7 separate regions of the Homo sapiens genome follow, and regions 1, 2, 3, 4, 5 and 7 are each linked to region 6. The links are contacts of gene promoters, found by promoter capture Hi-C in blood cells and fetal thymus (Javierre and others, 2016). All regions are on one chromosome and are shown on one strand. Each heading gives the region's core, a stretch centred on a gene start or on the middle of the fragment in contact. The rest is flanking DNA. Distances are from core to core; before and after follow the strand shown.

What was found. Contacts are between HindIII fragments. The CHiCAGO score rates a contact against its expected background, and 5 or more counts as called.
Region 1: a contact is called between a fragment that was not itself captured here and the fragment with the promoter of POLR1A in region 6, in 1 of 17 cell types (fetal thymus). The highest score is 6.3, in fetal thymus.
Region 2: a contact is called between the fragment with the promoter of SH2D6 here and the fragment with the promoter of POLR1A in region 6, in 4 of 17 cell types (fetal thymus, neutrophils, megakaryocytes and 1 more). The highest score is 6.0, in fetal thymus.
Region 3: a contact is called between a fragment that was not itself captured here and the fragment with the promoter of POLR1A in region 6, in 2 of 17 cell types (monocytes and neutrophils). The highest score is 6.6, in monocytes.
Region 4: a contact is called between a fragment that was not itself captured here and the fragment with the promoter of POLR1A in region 6, in 2 of 17 cell types (monocytes and fetal thymus). The highest score is 5.6, in monocytes.
Region 5: a fragment that was not itself captured here is called in contact with the fragment with the promoter of POLR1A in region 6 in 1 of 17 cell types (fetal thymus); the score reaches 7.5 in fetal thymus.
Region 7: a contact is called between the fragment with the promoter of RETSAT here and the fragment with the promoter of POLR1A in region 6, in 2 of 17 cell types (monocytes and neutrophils). The highest score is 9.2, in monocytes.

Annotation. Positions count from the first base shown.
Region 1 is chr2:85,322,185-85,325,239 of GRCh38, forward strand. TGOLN2 (trans-golgi network protein 2) reads right to left here. Exons shown (of 4, transcript NM_006464.4): 3 at 2,731-2,814; 4 at 1-557. The coding sequence ends at 552. Among named protein-coding and RNA genes, the nearest start is that of TGOLN2, 4.3 kb to the right of the region's middle. The HindIII fragment of the contact is 5,598 bases long and covers 1-3,055 here.
Region 2 is chr2:85,417,414-85,420,113 of GRCh38, forward strand. It overlaps SH2D6 (SH2 domain containing 6), which reads left to right and starts at 1,301. Exons shown (of 24, transcript NM_001394463.1): 1 at 1,301-1,517; 2 at 1,616-1,831. It also overlaps a transcript of CAPG not described here. RefSeq lists enhancers at 642-751, 748-1,283, 762-921. The HindIII fragment of the contact is 6,915 bases long and covers 1-2,700 here.
Region 3 is chr2:85,554,754-85,557,453 of GRCh38, forward strand. GGCX (gamma-glutamyl carboxylase) reads right to left here. Exons shown (of 15, transcript NM_000821.7): 5 at 1,429-1,507; 6 at 731-837. Among named protein-coding and RNA genes, the nearest start is that of GGCX, 5.4 kb to the right of the region's middle. The HindIII fragment of the contact is 9,525 bases long and covers 1-2,700 here.
Region 4 is chr2:85,579,697-85,582,396 of GRCh38, forward strand. It overlaps VAMP8 (vesicle associated membrane protein 8), which reads left to right. Exons shown (of 3, transcript NM_003761.5): 3 at 1,880-2,335. The coding sequence ends at 2,020. Among named protein-coding and RNA genes, the nearest start is that of VAMP5, 3.4 kb to the right of the region's middle. RefSeq lists enhancers at 1-611, 612-1,266, 1,267-1,920. The HindIII fragment of the contact is 4,412 bases long and covers 1-2,700 here.
Region 5 is chr2:85,535,823-85,538,777 of GRCh38, forward strand. It overlaps PARTICL (promoter of MAT2A antisense radiation-induced circulating long non-coding RNA), which reads right to left. Exons shown (of 1, transcript NR_038942.1): 1 at 1,645-2,955. Among named protein-coding and RNA genes, the nearest start is that of PARTICL, 1.6 kb to the right of the region's middle. RefSeq lists enhancers at 2,264-2,353, 2,754-2,955. The HindIII fragment of the contact is 1,714 bases long and covers 639-2,352 here.
Region 6 is chr2:86,104,612-86,107,576 of GRCh38, forward strand. POLR1A (RNA polymerase I subunit A) reads right to left here and starts at 1,275. Exons shown (of 34, transcript NM_015425.6): 1 at 1,089-1,275. The coding sequence starts at 1,165. PTCD3 (pentatricopeptide repeat domain 3) reads left to right here and starts at 1,624. Exons shown (of 24, transcript NM_017952.6): 1 at 1,624-1,740. The coding sequence starts at 1,637. RefSeq lists enhancers at 795-884, 1,085-1,294, 1,675-1,934. The HindIII fragment of the contact is 4,349 bases long and covers 1-2,003 here.
Region 7 is chr2:85,353,278-85,356,244 of GRCh38, forward strand. RETSAT (retinol saturase) reads right to left here and starts at 1,251. Exons shown (of 11, transcript NM_017750.4): 1 at 1,059-1,251. The coding sequence starts at 1,230. ELMOD3 (ELMO domain containing 3) reads left to right here and starts at 1,492. Exons shown (of 14, transcript NM_001135022.2): 1 at 1,492-1,552; 2 at 1,799-1,893; 3 at 2,278-2,321. RefSeq lists enhancers at 1,253-1,754, 1,319-1,718, 1,755-2,254, 1,889-1,948. The HindIII fragment of the contact is 19,367 bases long and covers 1-2,967 here.

The DNA.
Region 1 (3,055 bases), core at 220-2,719, 780 kb before region 6:
CATTTCCCCATCTTCTATGTCTTCTGTAGGGCACATCCCCCCCAAAGTAAGAGGCCTTAGTAGAAAAGCACTTCCACCTGCAGTTTTCCCCTAGGTCTGCAGAGAGAAACAGTGCAGAGTGCAATGCCACAGTCAAGGACCAACTTTCCTACAGAGCCCGGGCCCCAGGGAGGGTGGTCAGCAGCGCAGCCTGCCCAGGCTGGGATCTCCCTTTGGTCATAGCCGTGTTTCCATATACCCCTCCACTCACCCTCAGAGGAGGAACGGATGGAAGCCACCAGCATAAATAAAGGGAACACAGAAGAACAATGTCACCAAAGTGCAGGTGCAAAGCCCAAAGCAGCCCCCTACCTCTGCCAGCCCAGACCCGCCACTAAATTCTAGAGGAGGGTGTCTCTCAGGTCACAGTACTTTTTTCTTCATTTCTTTTGATTTAGAAACAAATCAGCAGGGAGGACAAGGTTCTCAAGGACAAAAAAATCAAAGCTGAAACGAGAGCAGCACAATCCATTGGTGACGTTCATCTTTTTCCAGAGGAATATACCATTCTGTTAGGACTTAGGGGAAAAAAGATCTTTTAGGAGGTGCAGGGAAAACATTCAGAATTAAGACATACTGACCCACCACCACAGAAACAGCAATTAATTAAAATAGCACACAAAATGATTTTTAAAGTTTGAAATGAAACCTAACACTAGAAAGATATACACTTGATGGAGAGAGAGGAATCCTGGCTTCTGCTTCATACTGTTCTGTACTGTTGTGAATTATTTACATGTGTTTTTTGTTGGTGGTGGTTTTCTTCTTTTTTGAGACGGAGTCTTGCTCTGTTGCCCAGGCTGGAGTGCAGTGGCATGATCTTGGCTCACTGCAACCTCTGCCTCCGAAGTTCAAGCGATTCTCCCACCTCGGCTTCCTCAGTAGTAGCTGGGATTACCATGCCCAGCTAATTTTTGTATTTTTAGTAGAGATGGTATTTCACCATGTTGGCCAGACTGATCTAGAACTCCTGACCTCAGGTGATCTGCCTCCCAAACTGTTGGGATTACAGGCGTGAACCACTATGCCCAGCCACATGTGTATTTTTTTAAAAATCATAAGCCATGTGTGGTGGCTCACGCCTGTAATCCCAGCACTCTGGGAGGCTGAGGTGGGTGGATCATTTGAGGTCAGCAGTTCAAGACCAGCCTGGCCAAAAGGGTGAAACCCCATCTCTACTAAAAATCTAAAAATTAGCTGGGCGTGGTGGTGGGCGCCTGTAATCCCACCTACTCGGGAGGCTGAAGAGGGAGAACTGCTTGAACCCGGGTGGTGGAGGTTGCAGTGAGCCAAGATTGTGCCACTGCACTCCAGCCTGGACGACACAGCAAGACTCCGTCTCAAAAACAAACAAACAAAAATCATAAAAGGGGGAAAACCCTTAAAGTCAATTATCTGAAAAGGCAGTAGTCCAGAGCTAAATTGTAAAGCTAGCCTACTGGACTAGTTAGCAAAGATATTCTGAGCTCAGTGGCTCGTTCTGTAGCTAATATTGAGTTGTGCAAGAGAATCGTGTTCCCTGCAGGAAGTCTGGGAACAATTCATAGTTGGGCCACCAATGGTTCTTTGCCAATGTCCTGGCTGTTGCTATGCTGAAAGCAGAAGGAAGGGTGCATGCTGGTAGCAACGCAGTGAGAGTACAGTCTTCCTGCTTAGACAGGTTGTCTTTAGAGAGACCCTTGCTTAGCTCTGCTGCCATGGGGTGGAAGGAGGGCTTATCTGTCTGACAGAGGAATGGATTGGCTGTACTCAGGAACTCCAGCCTACGGTGCTTAAGCCAGGCTGATGTGGGGAGTTGGAGGCCTATGTGCTTCCAGGCTCGTGTTTCCAGGGAGCACAGTCTAGCACTTTACCACACAAAGTGTGGATCCAGTGGCATTTGGTTTCACCTGGGAACTTCCTAAGAATGTAGACACAGGCCAGGCACGGTGGCTTATGCCTGTAATCTCAGCACTTTGGGAGGTCGAGGCGGGCGGATCACCTGAGGTTGGGAGTTCGAGACCAGCCTGACCAACATGGAGAAACCCATCTCTACTAAAAATACAAAATTAGCTGGACGTGGTGGTGGCGCCTGTAATCCTAGCTACTCGGGAGGCTGAGGCAGAAGAATCGCTTGAACCCAGGCAGCAGAGGTTGTAGTGAGCCGAGATTGCACCATTGTACTCCAGCCTGGGCAACAAGAGCAAAACTCCATCTCCAAAAAAAAAAAAAAGAATGTAGAAATATAGGCTCCACCCCACATCTAATGAATCAGATAATGCTTTTTATCAAAATTCCCCAAGGTGATTCAAATGCCTATTAAAGTTTATGGAGCGCTGGCAGAATGCAGAAAGCTCAGGACTGGGAGACTAGGGAGTTGCTATCAGGTCCTGAGTTTGCCACTAACTTGCAGTAGAAACTTAGCGGAAAAAAAAAAAAAAGAGTGTTTCTGCGTGGGCCTATTTCCTCATCTGTGAAGGGAGGTAGCTGCTGTAGAGTATTCCAAGGTCTCTGCTAGCTCTAACGTCACAGATATGTGTATCTAGATGTTTCTAGTTTGTTGTCTAAAAAGGGCGAATGCAACAGCAACAGCAACCGCATCCCCAGAATCAGCCACTGCTGCTTCATGGCAAATGCAAGCCCACTACTGGGTCCATCTGACGTTGCCTATCCCTCCTATCCCTCCCATGGACCTGGCTCCTCCTTCCTTACCTTCTGGTCCAAACGTTGGTAGTCACTGGCCTTTGGCCGCCGGGTGACTTTAGATCTTTTTCCTTCCAGGACAAAAGCAATGATCTGAGGAAAGGAAAAAGAAAATGATTAACAGGTGGCTCTGTAATGACATAGTTCAGTCTCTGAACTCAGAGGCAGTCACCTGGTAGCATATTTGTTAATGACCCTGACTGTAGAAAGAGCAGTACACTCACAGAGGTCTATTTAAACTATAACCATTTTAAGAAAGACAGAGCCTAATTACATCAGAATCCTTTGTATTGCTTAATAGGAAATAACAAATAGAAGGCTGTCTGAGCTCTAG
Region 2 (2,700 bases), core at 51-2,550, 690 kb before region 6:
CCACTATCACCGCATGCTAGTGCCAGTTGTGAGTCCTTTCACATGCAAACAGCTATCTCAGCTCTTTTTTTTTTTTTTTTTTTTTTTGAGACAGAGTCTGGCTCTGTTGCCCAGGCTGGAGTGCAGTGGCACCATCTCGGCTCACTGCAAACTCCGCCTCCTGAGTTCAAGCAATTCTCCTGCCTCAGCCTCCCGAGTAGCTGGGATTACAGGCACGTGCCACCACGCCCGGGTAATTTTTTCTATTTTTAGTAGAGATGGGGTTTCGACATGTTGGCCAGGCTGGTCTTGAACCCCTGACCTCAGGTGATCTGCTTGCCTCAGCCTCCCAAAATGCTAGGATTACAGGCGTGAGCCACTGCGCCCGGCCATACCCTCCCTTTTGAGGTGAGGCTCTTGAAGGCCCAGACCTTTCCTCCAGTGCTTTGAGGTCTGATCCTGATGATAATAACACCTCACTCATAACCTGGACTTCACAGTTTACAAAACACCCCTCCTCCTCACCCCCTCCCAAACTCGGTTTATTTTTGTCGTTAAAGCAGAGTTGTAGGCCAGGGTGGACCATAGGTTTTCTTGGTCACGAGAGACTTCCTCCCTCCCTGGGCTCCCCTCTGTAGTGGTGCCAAATAAAAATCTGATCAGTCAAGCCTGTAAGGTAACTAGCGCTAATGTGCAGAGCCAGTCCTGGGCAGGCCTGTTCATTATTTTGCACACTCTTACACCGAAAGGGCCCAGGACCCTCGCCTGACCCAGCCTTGCCTGCCAGGCCTGGGCTGGGTCTCCCAGCCCAAATTCTCACAAGAGGGCCGACTCCGGCCAGAGCGCGCCCCTCTTTGTGCCTCGGTTTGCCCACCTAGAGGTCAGTCCCGCAGGCGTGGCGGGTACATCTCAGGGTCGGCAGAAAGTGCCACCGGGAGCCCAGCCGGAGTTGAGGGCCTCGCGCCGGGCCCACTGTCCAGATCCAGGGCTCACGAGAAAAACGAGGACGCAGGAGAGCCACACGCCAGGACGCGTGTAAGGCCCCAACCCGGCCCCAGCCTGGGCCCTAGACCCCTAAGAACTACAAATCCCAGCAGGCAGTGGGCCGCGGGGCGGGGTCTCGGAAGCTGCGGCCTGTGGTGCCTTTGCTGAGCCCAGGTCCGGAGGGCCCTCGGGGACGGGAGCACCACAACAGACCCCCGGACACACTTACACACACAGTCTCACAAACACACAGTCACACACGCACACACACACACGCGCGCGCGCGCGCCTTTTGGCCCCTCCCCTACAAACTACAAATCCCGGCAGGCAGCGGGCCGTTGGGCGGGGCCTTGGGTGCTGATCCGGACGCAAAGATTGCGCCAGCCAGGGTGGGATCCCGGTAGCTAGGTGGGGGCTACCCTGCTGGGGAAGAGATGGCCTTCTCTCCTCGCAAACCCAGCTCCCCACCCCTGCACGCGCCCCTCTGCCCTGGAGTCGCTGGTCCGAGCCCTCCTTCTCTGCGAACCTGAGCCCCGCCCTGCCCTCCCTACGAGGTTGGGGCCGTGGGAGATGAAGATGGTGGGTGGGGGGTTGGGCCCACAGCCTGCTAAGCAGGCAGAGTGGCCTCCTGAACCCTTCCTCCATCGCCTAGAGCAAACTCCCATTCCTGGAAGGAGGAGCAGCCCAGACCCTGAGACTGGACTAGGTCTGTTAGGGTCCCTGTGTGGCCGGCAGGACTCGTGGTGAAGCCCGGGGAAGGCCTGGGTCCTCCAGGTCAGGGATGTAGGTCCCAGGGTGTGCAGGCCGCGGTATCTGACCATCGTCGGCGCCCTGCGCCCAGGCATCAATTTTACATGGCAGAGTCAAGGTGAGGTTAGGAGGCTGCCAGGAGGTAATAACCAGGGCGCTCGCATTCAGCATCCTCTCTCTCAAAGCACTCTCCTCACACCTCAGGGTCAAATGTCAGAGCTCTTGTCCTAACTTCCCAGGTTGCCCAAGGAGCTTCTGAGGCGCTACAGAAGGGACTTACCCAGACCCTTCAGTGCAAGCCAGGAACTCAGGGTCCGGCCTGCTCGGTAGGATGAGCTGTGCTGAGGCCCTACTTCATCCACCCTTCTGGGCCAGGGCAGCCTCTTTCCAGAGGCCTCTTCTCAGCTGATTTCTGGCTCCCAAGCGGGAGACTCAGGTTACACCTGTATCGGGAGCAGTGACACCACAGTGGCCAGCAACACATTGGACTTTCTGTCTCCAACTCCATTTTCAGCTTTTACACTTCCTGATCTGGGCATATACTGCTACATACTGGATCATCAAGGAAGGAGGAAAATACCTAGTCAATGAAGGTTTAGCCATGACCTTGTAAGTCAGTGAGATTTCATTCTTGTGTGGTTAGTTCGAGGCGAGCTACTTCCTAGAAATATTTCATTTGATCTCTAAACACCTAGAAACAGCTCCAAAAGGGATATTCAAAGTAGATTGCCCAGATTCTCTTGATAGCAGATGTGGGGTTCATATTAACTGGTCGCGTGGTCTCTAAGCATGCCTATTTCTGCCTGGGAAGTTCTCAAAGGTTTGGTTTTCTGAGTGTTTCTGTTAAAACAATCAGCCTTTTGTTGAGTAGCCCTTTTGCCCCTAGAGAGGAGAGATAGGTACCATAGAAACTTGGAGACAGCTATTGACTCAGTCCCTGGACTCTTTAATAAGAGCCCGTTCTGTTTTGTTTGTTTGTTTGTTTGT
Region 3 (2,700 bases), core at 73-2,572, 550 kb before region 6:
CACCATGCCCAGCCCCCTCTACATTTTCACACACTTTAGGTGTTCAATGTTTTCTAACATATCCTATGTAATAAGCAAGGGCAGATCTCCTAGGACAAAATTTGACTGAGATGTGTGTGTGTTGTGGAAGGGACGTTCCCCACGGAGGTCATGAGTGAGAGGACACTTTAAAAGGTGAATGCTTGGCTAACATCATAATGAAGTCAAACTTCAGGAACTGGAAAATAACAGGGAAGAAGAAAGAGAATAAAGTAAAACAAGAGGAAAGAAGAAATGGGAAGAAGACAAATCAGAAAGGTGACCCTTTGTTTTGTGGAAGTGATAATAATGGTTTTGTCAGAGCCTGAACAGTGAGTGCCCATCTTCTCAGTACATCAGCTGCAGGGCTCTGATGGGAGGCTAGAGTGGCAAGGCAAGGACACAGGCACCATCCAAGGCAGCTGCTGAGGGCACTGGCTCACTCACCAAGTCAGCCAGTTCCGGCTCTTTCCTTTCCTTTTTAAATTTCTTTTCCTTTCTTGCCTATCTATACCATATATCTCCCAAGAGCAGCTAGGGCTCAATCTTTTGATACCACTGACTCTGCTTCTGCTGAATAGGGAAATGAGTGGACAAAGGAAGGCATGTGGCAAATTCAGGCAAAGTAGGAACAGGTGCCATTACTGAGAGAGATGAGTCACCTGCTCTGTACCCATGCCTCAAAGAGGCCTCCACCATGACTGCCACTCACTTGAAGGGACTGAAGAGCCAGTGCCGGGACAAATATTCCATGGAATAGCCTTCAACCCAGTCTGCATCCAGCTTTTTCACACCCGCAATGAAGTACACAATGAAGATCTGAAAATAAAATGTGACACAAAGTTCAAGCAAAAAGAATCTTTTCTACAGATAGGCAAGAATAAAATAAGGAGCATATAGTTAGGACAACTTGAATCCATGCTCCTGAGTTACAGTCCTTGACCCAAATATTACAGTCCTTGACCCAAATAATCTACTTATATATATTTTTTAAATGAATAAAATAAATACTGATCTGAGTCCAGGGCCCAAGGAAGAATAGACCCCATCTTCTATTCATTCATCTCAGAAATTCGCCTCATCCAAACAGCATTTATTGACATCCAACCAATGTCAGCGACAGTATCAGGCACCAAGGAAGAAGTCATAAAGCACAGACTGAATCCTTTCTCTTTGTCATGAGGATTCCAATCTAGCAGGGACAAAGCTCTAGTCTTTCCTTGACAAATAAGATAATTCAGAGATTAAGGGATTGGAAAAAATGAGAAGCCAGCCTAGCTTTCCAGCAAAGGGTAAAAACTAAAAACAGAAGATCCAGGGAGGCAGCGGAGAGTGTAGTCTGGCAGTGGGATGGCCATGCTGACCACATGGCTGTCAAGGAGCTCCTCCCTCTGTCCTAAAATGCTGTACCTGGCCACGGAGCACTGCATAGTTCCAAAGGGGCACGTGGGCATTCCTCCTATGGGCATTCAGCAGACCGTCCACAGACCTACACCGAGGGAGGTAAACATTGAGGGGGGAGCTGCTTAATGCAGCTACATCTCCATCCTTCCTTTTATACACGATAATCCTATCTATCCTGGGCACATCTCCCATATCCTCCCTGGTTATTCTGAGACCTTTTAGAATTATATGAGCAAATTCTAACATGATTATACAAGTCATAGAAGAAATATTGCTACTAAGTTATAACAGCAAAAAGTTCAGTATTTCTTGTTAGCTCCCAGTTGAGTTTGTTCTAATGGATCAAATCAGGAAAAAAGGACTACAATACTAGAAAATTACTGAAAAAGGGGAGGAATTTGATGGAGTGTTTGAAAAGCTATGTATGTGTAAATAAATATGCGGTGTATTATCTTTAAAAAAAAATGAAAACCCTCAACAGCAGAGTAACACACAACATAAACTAACATTTCATAGACCTGGGTGCCAGGATCCAGTATAAGAGGGTTCCTGCTAACAGCTTGTATTCTGGAAGAGAACTGATTAGACCCAGGCTACTAACACCAGATGTACTCTGGGGAAGCAGAAGCAAAGCAAGTTTTCAAGAAGTAGAAGCTGGGAAAGGGGCAGCTTACACTGTGGTCAAGAGCACTGGACTCTGCAGTCATGAACACCTGGACTCACTTCTGTTTCTTAACTGCTAGCTGACCTTAGGCAAATTCTTCACTCGTCAATAATACTTAGCTTCTTTATCTTTAAAATGTGAACAGGCCAGGCTCAGTAGTTCATACCTATAATACCAACATTTTGGGAAGCTAAAGCGAGAGAATCTCTGGAGCCCAGGAGTTTGAGGTTGCAGTGAGCTATGACTGCACCACTGCATTCTGGCCTCAGTGACAGAGCAAGACCCTGACTCCAAAAAACATAAAATGTGAACAGCACCATCGACCTTACAGGGTTTTAATGAGGAAAAACTCTAAATATTTAGTATAGTGCCTGCGATGTGGAAAACCCTGAATAAATGATAAGTGATTTTTTCAAAATGCATAAAGTCATAAAAATGGAACTTCTGACTAGCCTGAGCAACATAGTGAGATCCCATCTCTACAAAAAATTTTAAAAATTAGCTGAGTGTGGTGGCACACACCTGTTGTTCCAGCTACTCAGGAGGCTGAGATGGAAGGATCACCTAAACACAAGAAGGTTGAGGCTGCAGTGAGCTATGATCACGCCACTGCA
Region 4 (2,700 bases), core at 170-2,669, 520 kb before region 6:
TATCTCCCACACATCTTGCTAGACCTCATTCTTCTCTCTCTCCAGCCAGGGGCTGAGGCCAGCTGTTTCAGGGAGGAAGTAACTCCAAAGTTGAGCAAAGTCTGGAGCCTCAAGTTCTGTGTTCAGCGGGGAGGCTGGCTCTGGCTTTCTGAGTCCTGTGTGAACTCTTGGCTCTTGGGTATTGCTCCCTTGTCTCCCTGGGGCTCATTGCCTGTTTCTGTAGCTTAATTGTAGCTTAATTTGGGGAGCATGGCCCCGGGAATTTTTTTTTTTTTTTTAGACAGAGCCTCACTCTGTTGCCCAGGTTAGAGTGAGTGCAATCTTGGCTCACTGCAAACTTCACCTCCTGGGTTCAAACGATTCTCGTGCCTCAGCCTCCTGAGTAGCTGGGATTACAGTGTGCACCCCCACACCTGGCTAATTTTTTGTATTTTTAGTAGAGACGAAGTTTTGCCTTGTTGGCCAGGGTGGTCTTGACCTCCTGACCTCAGGTGATCCACCTGCCTTGGCCTCTCAAAGTGCTGGGATTACAGACTTGAGCCACCATGTCTGGACAAGCCCCAGGAAATTTAGTGTCTATAACTTGAATTGCTGGGCATGGGGAAGAGTGGGTGGAGGAGGAGGAGTTCCCTTACTTCCAACCCTCTATCCTGTCCTGGTCCCTCCTCCAGCCTCAGCAGTCCCGATGGGGCAAGGAGTCCTGGAGCTGCGAGATGTGCCCACCTGGAGCCTGCACCCCTCAGTCCCAGGGTCTGCCCTCCCAAGGGCAGATTTTGCTGCCAGTGTTGTACCCTTGGGTGTAAGCAGGTGTCGAGGACCCCTCAGTGTGCAGGGGTAAGAAGAGAAAGGGGACCCCTAGTCATATCTAGGTGGAGACCTCCTAGGATCCTGAGAATTCTAAATTTCAACCCGGCCTTCCAGATTTTTAGGAAGGTACATTTGTCAAGGTAGGCAGATACAGCATTTTTTTTTTTTTTTTTTTTTTTTTGAGATGGAGTCTTGCTTTGTTACCCAGGCTGGAGTGCAATGGCGCAATCTCGGCTCACTGCAACCTCCGCCTCCCAGGTTCAAGTGATTCTCCTGCCTTAGCCTCCTAAGTAGCTGGGATTACAGGCGTCTGCCACCACACCCGGCTAATTTTCTTGTATTTTTAGTAGAGAGGGGGTTTCACAATGTTGGCTAGGCTGGTCGCGAACTACTGACCTCAGGTGATCCACCAACCTCGGCCTCCCAAAGTGCTGGGATTACAGGCGTGAACCACCGCACCCGGCCAGAGCATCTTTTATTTAGCAGTTTGTTACCTCAGCTTACAGTGTCAGTATTAAGATGTATGGCTTGAGCTGAACGTGGTGGCATGTGCCTGTAGTCCCAGCACTAGGGAGGCTGAGGTGGGAGGATTGCTTGAGCCCTGGAGATGGAAGCTGCAGTGAGCTGAGATTGTGCCACTGCACTCCAGCCTGGGTGACACAGCCAGACACTGTCTCAAAAAACAAACAAACAAGGCCAGGCGTGGTGGCTTACGCCTGTAATCCCAGCACTTTGGGAGGCCAAGGCGAGTGGATCACCTGAGGTCAGGAGTTCAAGACCAGCCTGGCCAACATGGTGAAACCTCCTCTCTACTAAAAATACAAAAGTTAGCTGGGCGTGGTGGTGGGCACCTGTAATCCCAGCTACTCAGTAGGCTGAGGCAGGAGAATCAATTGAACCCAGGAGGTGGAGGCAGCAGTGAGCCAAGATCGAGCCACTGCCTGAGTGACAGAGCGAGACTCCATCTCAAAAAAAAAAAAAAAGTATGGCCTGTGGGCTGCACTTGTACTCTTATAATCTTGTTCCAGTGGGAGGAGCCACTGGGTCACTCACTCTGCCTTTTCCCCAACAGTCTGAGCACTTCAAGACGACATCGCAGAAGGTGGCTCGAAAATTCTGGTGGAAGAACGTGAAGATGATTGTCCTTATCTGCGTGATTGTTTTTATCATCATCCTCTTCATTGTGCTCTTTGCCACTGGTGCCTTCTCTTAAGTAACAGGGAACCTCTCCCACCTGCCCTTCTCTTCAGGGACAACCCTCCATAAATGTGTGCCAAGAGGGTCTCCTTTCCTGTCTTCCTCTACAGAGAATGCTGCTCGGTCCTCCTACCCCTCTTCCCGAGGCCCTGCTGCCATGTTGTATGCCCCAGAAGGTACCTTGGTCCCCCGGAAGGAGAGAAAAAAGAGAGATGGACTGTGGCTGCATTTCTTGGGTCCTTAGAGTGGGCTGGAGAGACCTAGAGGGCCCAGCATGTGGCTGGGAAACTGTTGGTGGCCAGTGGGTAATAAAGACCTTTCAGTATCCCTATATGTGTGAGGCACTTTCTCTCTTCCCATTTTGCCTTTGGCTTTTCTATTTCTTTTCTTCCTGAGGATACCTTCTGGCTAAAATTCTCTCATCTGAGGTCCAAGTTGTTGGAAGGGCAAAGAGTATATGTTTGGAGAAGAAAGTTGGAGCCCCCACCCTGTCTTTATTCCTCCCAGTTCCATTCATTGTCACAGGTCTCAAGAACAAGAATTTTCTGGGAGTCTTGGCATATGGAAAGTTCAAAACCTTCATAGCATTTTGGGGTGGTATGCAAGATTTTTAAGTGTTCCCATTGGGTCCTGCCATGGCCCTGTAGTACTCTTCTTCTGGAATTGTTAGCTGAGGCATGAAGCTGGTTGAAATCC
Region 5 (2,955 bases), core at 246-2,745, 570 kb before region 6:
CGATAAACAGGAAATAAACCAACAATTTCTCCTGGTTTAGTTCACCCTTAGGACACGCATCTATGAAATCAGAAATCTTATTCCTGTCAGAACAGGATGGCCATGTGCTTCCCTGTTAACAAAGAAGTCTTAATTTTATTAATTACAATGCTTACGACTAAAACAAAGCAGGACCTCTTTCCATTGATTTCACATGATCGCCAGAGTCTCTCATTTCTCTGCTTCCTTCTGCCATCTTTTTTTTTGAGACGGAGTCTTGCTCCGTCGCCCAGGCTGGAGTGCAGTAGTGCGGTCTCAGCTCACTGCAAGCTCCACCTCCCGGGTTCACATCATTCTCCTGCCTCAGCCTCCCAAGCAGCTGGGATTACAGGCGCCCGCCACCACGCCCAGCTAATTTTTTGTATTTTTAGTAGAGATGGGATTTCACCGTGTTAGCCAGGATGGTCTGGATCTCCTGACCTCGTGATCCACCCCGCCTCGGCCTCCCAAAGTGCTGGGATTACAGGCGTGAGCCACCGTGCCCCGCCCCCTTCTGCCATCTTTATATTCGTTCATTTTCCGTTTCCTTCCCTTCCTTTCTTGTCTCTCCCTCTTGAACATTTCTAAGCACCTTGTGTGTGCCAGGCATTCAGTAACAAAGCTTGAGCAAAACAGCCCACCTTCTCATTATCATGGAGCTTACAAGCCTAACTGGGAATTGGAGACATTCATCAAATAATCACCAAATCTATAATTTGAAACTGCACTTAGTGCCATGAAATAAAACACAGGCCCCTGTGACAAATCTGTGTAGATGAAGGCTTCATCCAGGAAGTGGTAGCTGAGCTGGAGTGAGAAGGATAAGGAGTTAGCCAGGCATCTCCCCACATTTAGAGCGCCGAGTGGGCAGAGACCAGGATTGTTATAGCATTTGCTCCTGGGTCTGACTCACAGATGTGCTCATAAATATTTGTGGAAGGGAGGAAGGGACAATACGAATAATATAAAATAAATGAAAATGTGTCCTCCTTTGTTTTGATACTATGAAATTAATAAAATTAACTGCTACTAACTAAAAAATCCAAGTAGAACACAGAAAGGAGAGTGTGGCACAAGGTAAGGTTGCAGAAGTAGCAGCCAAATCACACTGGGGCCTTGAGTATGTAGAGATTTTAGTCCGTATCCCGACAGCAATTGAAAGCCACTGAAAAGTAATTCACAGCAAATATAGTTAATTTTTTTACAGCTTACATTAAAACAAATTATGTACTAGATACTGTGCTAAAGACTCTACTTGCACTATTTGAATCCTTGAAACAATCCTATGATGTACTATTAATATTCCAATTTTACAGAACGAGGATACTGATGCATAGAGAGGTCGTGACTCCAAACCCCTACTCTTACTGTATTACACCTACACACTATTCACAAGTGAGAGAAGTAGGTAAGCAACTATGTACAGCTAAATCTCATCTCCTTGGCAGGCCTAGCCCCACTGTGGAGTTGGTAGCACAGGGGTATCAGGATTTAATGAGCCAATCATTGACTTTACGCTCCTTGTTCTGACTCCCTAATAAAATAACCTTCTAGTTATATTCTGGCTTCCCATATAGATTTTTCTGCTGGGAGATAATGCACTGACCAGCCTACACACGCATTTTGTTCCAGTTGACAATTTTATTACACATTGTAAGTTAATAAATTGGCATTCTCCTTTAAAAAATAACAAAAAAATTTAATAGTCTTATACAGTTACTTTCCCATGAAGGGTTAGCTTGAAAAGTAAAAAGCAACGAATAAAAATATCATCACCTATTGTCTCTTTTGTGGTCGAACCTTTTCTTGCTGCCTGCTTTGAGCGACCGTGGATGTGGTCACTGAGTCTGGGGAGGAGCCCTTTATCTTCTTTGTGGATGCCCCCAGCACAGCCCAAGTGCTTCCTTTGTTTCCCACTGAGCCTTTAGCAAATCCCACCTTTCCTCCTGCACCGACGGAGAGGATTGTTCTTGGGAATGCACCTTGTTCTACTGCCGCCAGCAGTAGGCAGCTGGAGACTGTTACTAGGGGTCTCCTTCACCTCCCCAGCGTAAAGTACATCCCATGCTAGGAGCAGGCCGTTCCCTGAGAACCTCATTAAACCCGGCGTTCTTGTCACGCGCTCCGCTCAGGGCCACCAGGCCACCAGCCCGACCAGACCTGCACCGAGGCCCAGCCCCAGAACAGGCTGCAGAGACCCCCGCCCCCAAGGCGGGCTCCCTCCAAACGGGACTCCATACTCCTTGCTGGCTCAAGTTTTGTTTCGCTCTTTTTCCCTGTAATTCCTTTATTGGGCAAAACTGGGACAAACGCAGGTGGACATTTTAAAGTGAAAGCTTCATGAAACAGCCCATTCCACGCCGTCAAGAGATCTGCTTAAGCACATTCAAGGGAACGAATAGCCCCCACCCACCAAAAAAGAAATGTTCGTTCCATATTCTCCTGAACAGAGGATTGAAACATCGATTCCCCCCCCCTTCAAAGGAACAGGAAGGCCACGGGGCAAGGACGGACTTGGGAGCGGCCTCCTTTCTCTCTGGAGGGAAAGGCTGGAGCGCTGCCTCCACTTTTAAGTCCACGAACCACGAAGGGTGAGGATCCCTCAGAAACTTTAGCGCAGGGGAGCGGGCAGGAGGGCGATTGTTTAAATCGATGGCAGCACCTTCATTAATCTGCTTTCCGGCCATCTTCAGCAGAGCCATTCACCAGGAAACGACTAGAAGGTGGGCCTGCGCCCCTCAGATATCCCGGGGCCGGCAACGAGCCGGGCAGGGACGCCGAAGGAAGGCCGTGAGGAGCCCTCGCTGGCCGGCCAAGATGGCCACCTTCACATGGCCGACCGCCACCGGCTCCCTGCCACCCGGCATCTAGAGGCGGGACGGCCAGAAAGACCCCAGCCGCAGCACAAAACCTCCGCGATTCCCGCCGCCTCCGCTG
Region 6 (2,965 bases), core at 25-2,524:
TAATTTTTGTATTTTTAGTAGAGACGGGGTTTCACCATGTTGGCCAGGGATGGTCTCGATCTCCCGACCTCGTGATCCGCCGGCCTCGGCCTCCCAAAGTGCTGGGATTACAGGCGTGAGCCACCGTGCCCGGCCATGTTGAGTTTCTGATATGCATTTAGGCCATGTTGAGTTTTTGATATGCATTTAAGATCTCTGTGTGAAATTCAATTAAAGATGTACAGACAGCTGAACAAATGGGTCTGAAAATCAGGGAAATAAATTTGCGTTGGGGATTTAAATTTGAGACTATAAATCATGAAAGTGGTGAGATTGTCTAGGGACAATATTTACCATGAAGAAAACATTACTAGAATAGAATCTTGAAGAACATCAACATTTAAGGAGTAAAATGAGGTACAGACCTTGCTCACCAATGTGTCATTAACGCCTAGCTTGGTGCCTGGAAAAAACTGGATGCTCAATAAATGTTTGTGAGGTTATAGATCGATAGAGGAAGAGAGGGAGGTAGAAGTATTTGTCATAAAAATAGGAGAACTTGAAGACAAATAAGGTTCTGGAAGAAAGGAAAGTTTCAAGAGAGTGCATTGGAGAATGTCAAATGCTACCTTGATCAAAATGAAGACTAAAGAGAGTTCCCTTGATTTAACAACCAGACCGAGAATATAGCAGGGTCCTAGCAAAGAGAAGTTAACGCCTGAACTGACACTTGAAGGACAATCATTTTACAAACAAGAGGAAACTTACTACGTGCCTAATTAACCATGTCAGGTACACTATGGTTAATTCCACAAATGCTTGTTAGTTAACGAGGAGACTGGCAGATGATAACGCTGCAGACCAGGACCCTCCCCACCCTTATATTCCCCTACCTCAGCGCAAACTCTTTCCCCCAGCACCACCGGCCTCTTATCCAGGCAGTCCACGCCGGCCCAGGAACGTTCCCAGAACTACGGCTCCCAGCAGGACAAGCGCCAGACAAGCCTGGACTCAAGAGGATAGACTGGGCAAAAGCGCTTCTGGGAATCGTAGTTTAGGGCGCCGACCTCAAGATCCAGGCTGGGCACGCTACCCGACCAACTCCTTACTTGAGCTCTTCAGCCGAATACATCCCGAAGGAAATGCCCTGCAGCCGCCGCCAGGGCATGTTCTTGGAGATCAACATCCTCCAGGTCCGTTTTGAATTCCGACACCCCAAGAGACGTTCCACTCACCACCTGACTATTCTTAATTCAACCTCAAGCCCGGAGTCACCACGCGATTCAACGTGCGCTTGCGCGCGGAAGCGGTCGCAGGAACGACATTTACGTGGATGAGATCACTTCTACATGGGGGGGGAACAAATAGTTGTACGACTCTCTGCTCGCTCTTTTGTTTTGAAAACAATCAAAGATATATAAGACATCAAAATAATCATTTAGGAAAATTCCTCCGAGGCAAATCGGGTGTATAGAGCTTTTAGCTTCCGTGACGAAGTCTTTCAAACCATGAGCTTGCAACCTCCCATTTTATGATTGCTTTCGTCTTCTTCCGCTTCAGCCAATAGCGGAGCTGTTCCCTGCTCCCCGCCCACTGCGCCCCACCTTCCTGAAGGTCGAGGCACGCTTTCCCAACATGCTCTGCAGAGAAATCAAAGATGGCGGTTGTATCTGCTGTTCGCTGGCTGGGCCTCCGCAGCAGGCTTGGCCAGCCGCTGACGGGTCGGCGGGCGGGTTTGTGTGAACAGGCACGCAGCTGCAGGTAAGAGACGCTTAGGGTATCCGCGAAGAAGACCGCGGAGTCACCTTAGTCCTATGTTTCCCAGCTGGCTGTGGAAGTAGGCACGATGAAATGGTTTGCTCATGCGCGCCCTTAACGGTCGCGTGCCCTTAAGACCAGGTACGCGGAGGTGGCCCTTTGAAATAGGATTCGCAACGCATTTATTCATTAGAGAAATACTTATTGGTTGCTTGCAATATTCTGTAGTTAACACCATCCGCAAAGCTAGGACCCTGCTCTCATGAAGCTTGCGTTCCAGTGAGTGTGGCTATTAGCAACACTACCCCAAATTAAAAATTATCCGCCATTACTCATTTTAACCCAATCAGGAGGAGCGAGGAGAACGTACAAGATCTTCCCAAATAAAAGGCAGTCTCTGGTCGCCACCGTGGGGACTTTGGCTAAAGAAGTTATCAGGTTTTCGTAAAAGCAGAAAAGTCTAAAAGATCTGACTATGCCCTTTTGATCTGTGATAGTTATAGCTTGGAACATGTATGACCTATCTGTGTAATTTTTTTTTCACTCAGTACAAACAGTGGCATTGTGGGAATATGAGAGGCAGTAATTTGTAGTGAAAACTTGCTAAAAGCCTAATTTTAGGTTTAGTGTTTGCCATTCACTTAATTGGATGATAATAGACAGATTTCCTCATCTGCAGACTAGAGTTGGTAATAACCATCCGAAAAGTTTGTGAGGTATAAGTGGGGTATGTAATTTACAATATGTTTTTATATGTACTCTCCCTTAGTTCCCCTCAAGAAAGAGAAACCACTCCATCTGATACTGCAGAAACCTTTGTGCTGCCATTCAATGCCAGTCCTCCGTTTCCTGGTAGCCATCGTTAGCATTTTTCTACTCATTTTCTTTGCCTGAAGCAGAATCTCTTCCTCAGCATCCGTTCTCAAAATAACTGTGATCTCTGTTTTAAGGTCATGAGAAACAAATAGTGTGACTTGAAAGAGTTGATCTCAGAAACTTGAAAGAGTTGATCTCTTTCTGAAATGTCCTTAACGTAGAGGGGTATTCTTGTTTTAAATGATACCTGAAACCAGATACTACTGGAGGAAGTATCTGTCTGTGCAATCACATCTTGACAATTTTCTGAATGTTACTGATGCCATTTAGTAAGGGGAAACACAAGATAATACTAACCGTCACATTATCTGTGGTGTGTTGACTGTGTTTTTAGTGTGATCAGAACACTTAA
Region 7 (2,967 bases), core at 1-2,500, 750 kb before region 6:
CCCTGTCTCTACTAAAAATACAAAAATTAGCTGGGCATGCCCACTACTCGGGAGGCTGAGGCAGGATAATCACTTGAACCCAGGAGGCGGAAGTTGCGGTGAGCGGAGATCGCGCCACTGCACTCTAGCATGGACAATAGAGCGAGACTCTGTTTCAATAAATAAATAAATAATGCCAGTTGCAACTCACTAAATTGATTTCATAGCCCACTAATAGATCACAATCCGGTTTGAAAAGCAGTTAAGCTAGTCATCTCATTTTTAGACCAGCCCAGGTAGGTGCTAATGGTTATGCAGCAAATTAGTGACAGAGTCCAAGCTAAAACTCAGTTCTCAGAAGTCCAGATGATTAGTCCTTCCACTTAGAACAGTACTGTCTCCGATTGTGTAGCAAGATATGACACGGAGAATTCTAAAATTTACAAGTGAGAGGGACTCCGTAGATCAAACAGGTGATCCATTATTTTTTAAAGCAGCAGAACTCTTTAAACTCTAGAAGCAACCACAAAATATGTTTTAAAGATGAGAGTGGAGAGCAGGCTCTGAGCCTGAGGCGCCTTGTTGAACCTCTGCCAATGTTTCAGAACTAGGGTTCAATCCTTACGATTTGGGACCATGCAAAGCCTGTTAAATCACCGGACGGGCAAAACGCAATTTCCTACGCATTTCTGTGCTGCTCCCCCACACCCCTGAGCTCGCATGGGAGGGTAGGTGAAAAAGTTAAGGTCCTGGAACCAAGTGGAGGAATGAGTCACGGGGATTATCAGTTCCACGAGCCACGGGGATTACAAGTGGCAGGGCGGGTGCCAACACCTTGCAAACCAAGGACAATGACCACACCCTTGGGACTACTATTCCCGGGGCCTACTAGGGCAAAGGCTATCGACAGTGTTGCACACTAAAGCGGGGCTCCTCCACGTGCAAGGAAGCCCTCCTAGTACTTTACATATGGGGAAACTAAGGCCCACGTCTGGTAGCGGCTGCCTTGGCAAAATGAGAACCCAAATCTGTGAGAAAGCCTCGAGTGCAGCCCCGGACCCCAGGGTCCCTCCTGCTACCTTGTTTGAGAACCTTCTTCCTGGCCTCCTTGTCAGTTACCAGGGGCGCTGGGGGCCGTTTGACATCTTCGGAGAAAGGATTCGGGGAGCTGCCAGAGAATAGTCCCAAGTAAACTTTGCAGAGGACGGCCAGCAGCAGCACAGCCAGGAGCAGCACCAGCGGAAGCCACATCACGCCGGCGTCGGGTCGGGTAAATGGGACAGCTCCGACTGCGCTCAGCCTCTAGGACTGTGGCTCCGCCCGGGCTAGTTCGCTCTCCAGTCAGGAGGCGGAGGCAGCTTTGAGCACTGATTAACCAGCCAGCCAGCGAAGAGCCAACTCTCAGGTGATGATTGACCCTCCCGGCTCTCCGTACTTCTTTTGGGTTTCCATTGCCTACTGGGAAATGTAGTTCTCGGGGCCAGGGGAGCCGGCACGGAAGCGGCTGTGCGCATGAGCAGATGAGGCCTAGCCGAGGCGGCGGGACCCCCAAGTTTGGAAAGCTCTTTTAACGGTGAGAACGCGTTAACACTTGCCAAGGGGAGTGGTTGGTGCCTGTGCGGAGCTAGCAGCCGGCCTGAGGAGGGAGGGAGAATGTGATCCGGTGGAAATTATCACTATGGGGCGAGACAAGGCCGAGAGTTGTAAGACTGAAAGAGAATCCCGACTGGGAGACAGGAGTCCTGAGTTCTGGTCCTGGCTCTGCCCTGGACTCGCTGCCTTGAGGTGTTAAATTGCTTTCCTCGTCTTACGCCTCCAGGCTATGCGAAAGTTCTGTCCAAAGGCTGCTCACAGCCCCTGTCTGACTGGTTGTCATGATGAATTGAGCTCTCTGTTACCTGCGCATCACAACCGGTGAGCGTCTGTCTCTGTGCCCCTCAAAGTGGCCCATAGTTTTGTCCTGGGGGCCCGCCTGGGACGGAGTCCTCTATGGCGGGTCCCTAATGACACCCCATCCGTGGGGAACCTGGGGGACGGGGAGCCGCCCATGGACAAGCATGGTGAAAGGATCAGCTAAGGGCCCATCTAATTTAAATTCCTATGCAGAGAATCTAACCTCCAGCAAGCAGTTGAAGAATCATACCCCCTCCTTGCCTAAAGAGGGTGCATAATGAATACTTGATTGGAGAAGGATCCATTTTTACAGGAAGGCCGTTTCCTTAGGTCCAACTATCAGGAATTTGCCTTTGAGTACTTCCTTGTTTAATGGAATTGTTGCTCTTTTCTTCTCTGCTACAGATAGTAACTGTCCCTACTGAAGGCCCCAGGAGTGCTCCAGCCAGGTGTGGAAAGCTGGTCACGATTCTATGCTACTTGGTTCATTTTCTACACAGCAACAGAAGAGCCCTCCTGAGATTGCTATTACCATACCCGCCTGTCACCTTGCCAAGGCTGGCCAATGTGTGTTTTGTCATAGGCTGTCATGGAGGCCATGATGGAGGAAAAGGAAAGGGGAGGCAGATGTTGAGGCCCCAGAGGCCACAGTGAGAGCAGTTTAGTTCCTGGGGTGCCAGGACTAAGGGGGCATTGCCCTGTCCCCCGGATTACAGTGAGCCACATGTCAAGCCCAAGAGCCAGGAGGTATTCTTCCTCTCAGTGTTAATAATCAAAGCATCCTGACACCAGCAGCCAGTTTTTATGGCATCCTGGAGGGCTGACCTCATAGAGAGGCTACCCTCCTTCCTTAGTCACCCAAAGTTGTGAACTATGATTGTCAGTTGTGTGTGGGCCATCTGCCCACTTAGGATGCAATTTTTGATGTGACAGACATTCCGGATGTCCAATTCCCCTGTGATGAGGTATGAGCCTTGTCCAGCCCTTTTCCTGAGGGAAGCAATGTCAGATGAAAGACTTAGAATTGCCCAAACTGGCTAGCCAGCTGCCACATGCACAGTATTGCTGATAACTGAGAAAGGTTAGAACATCGTG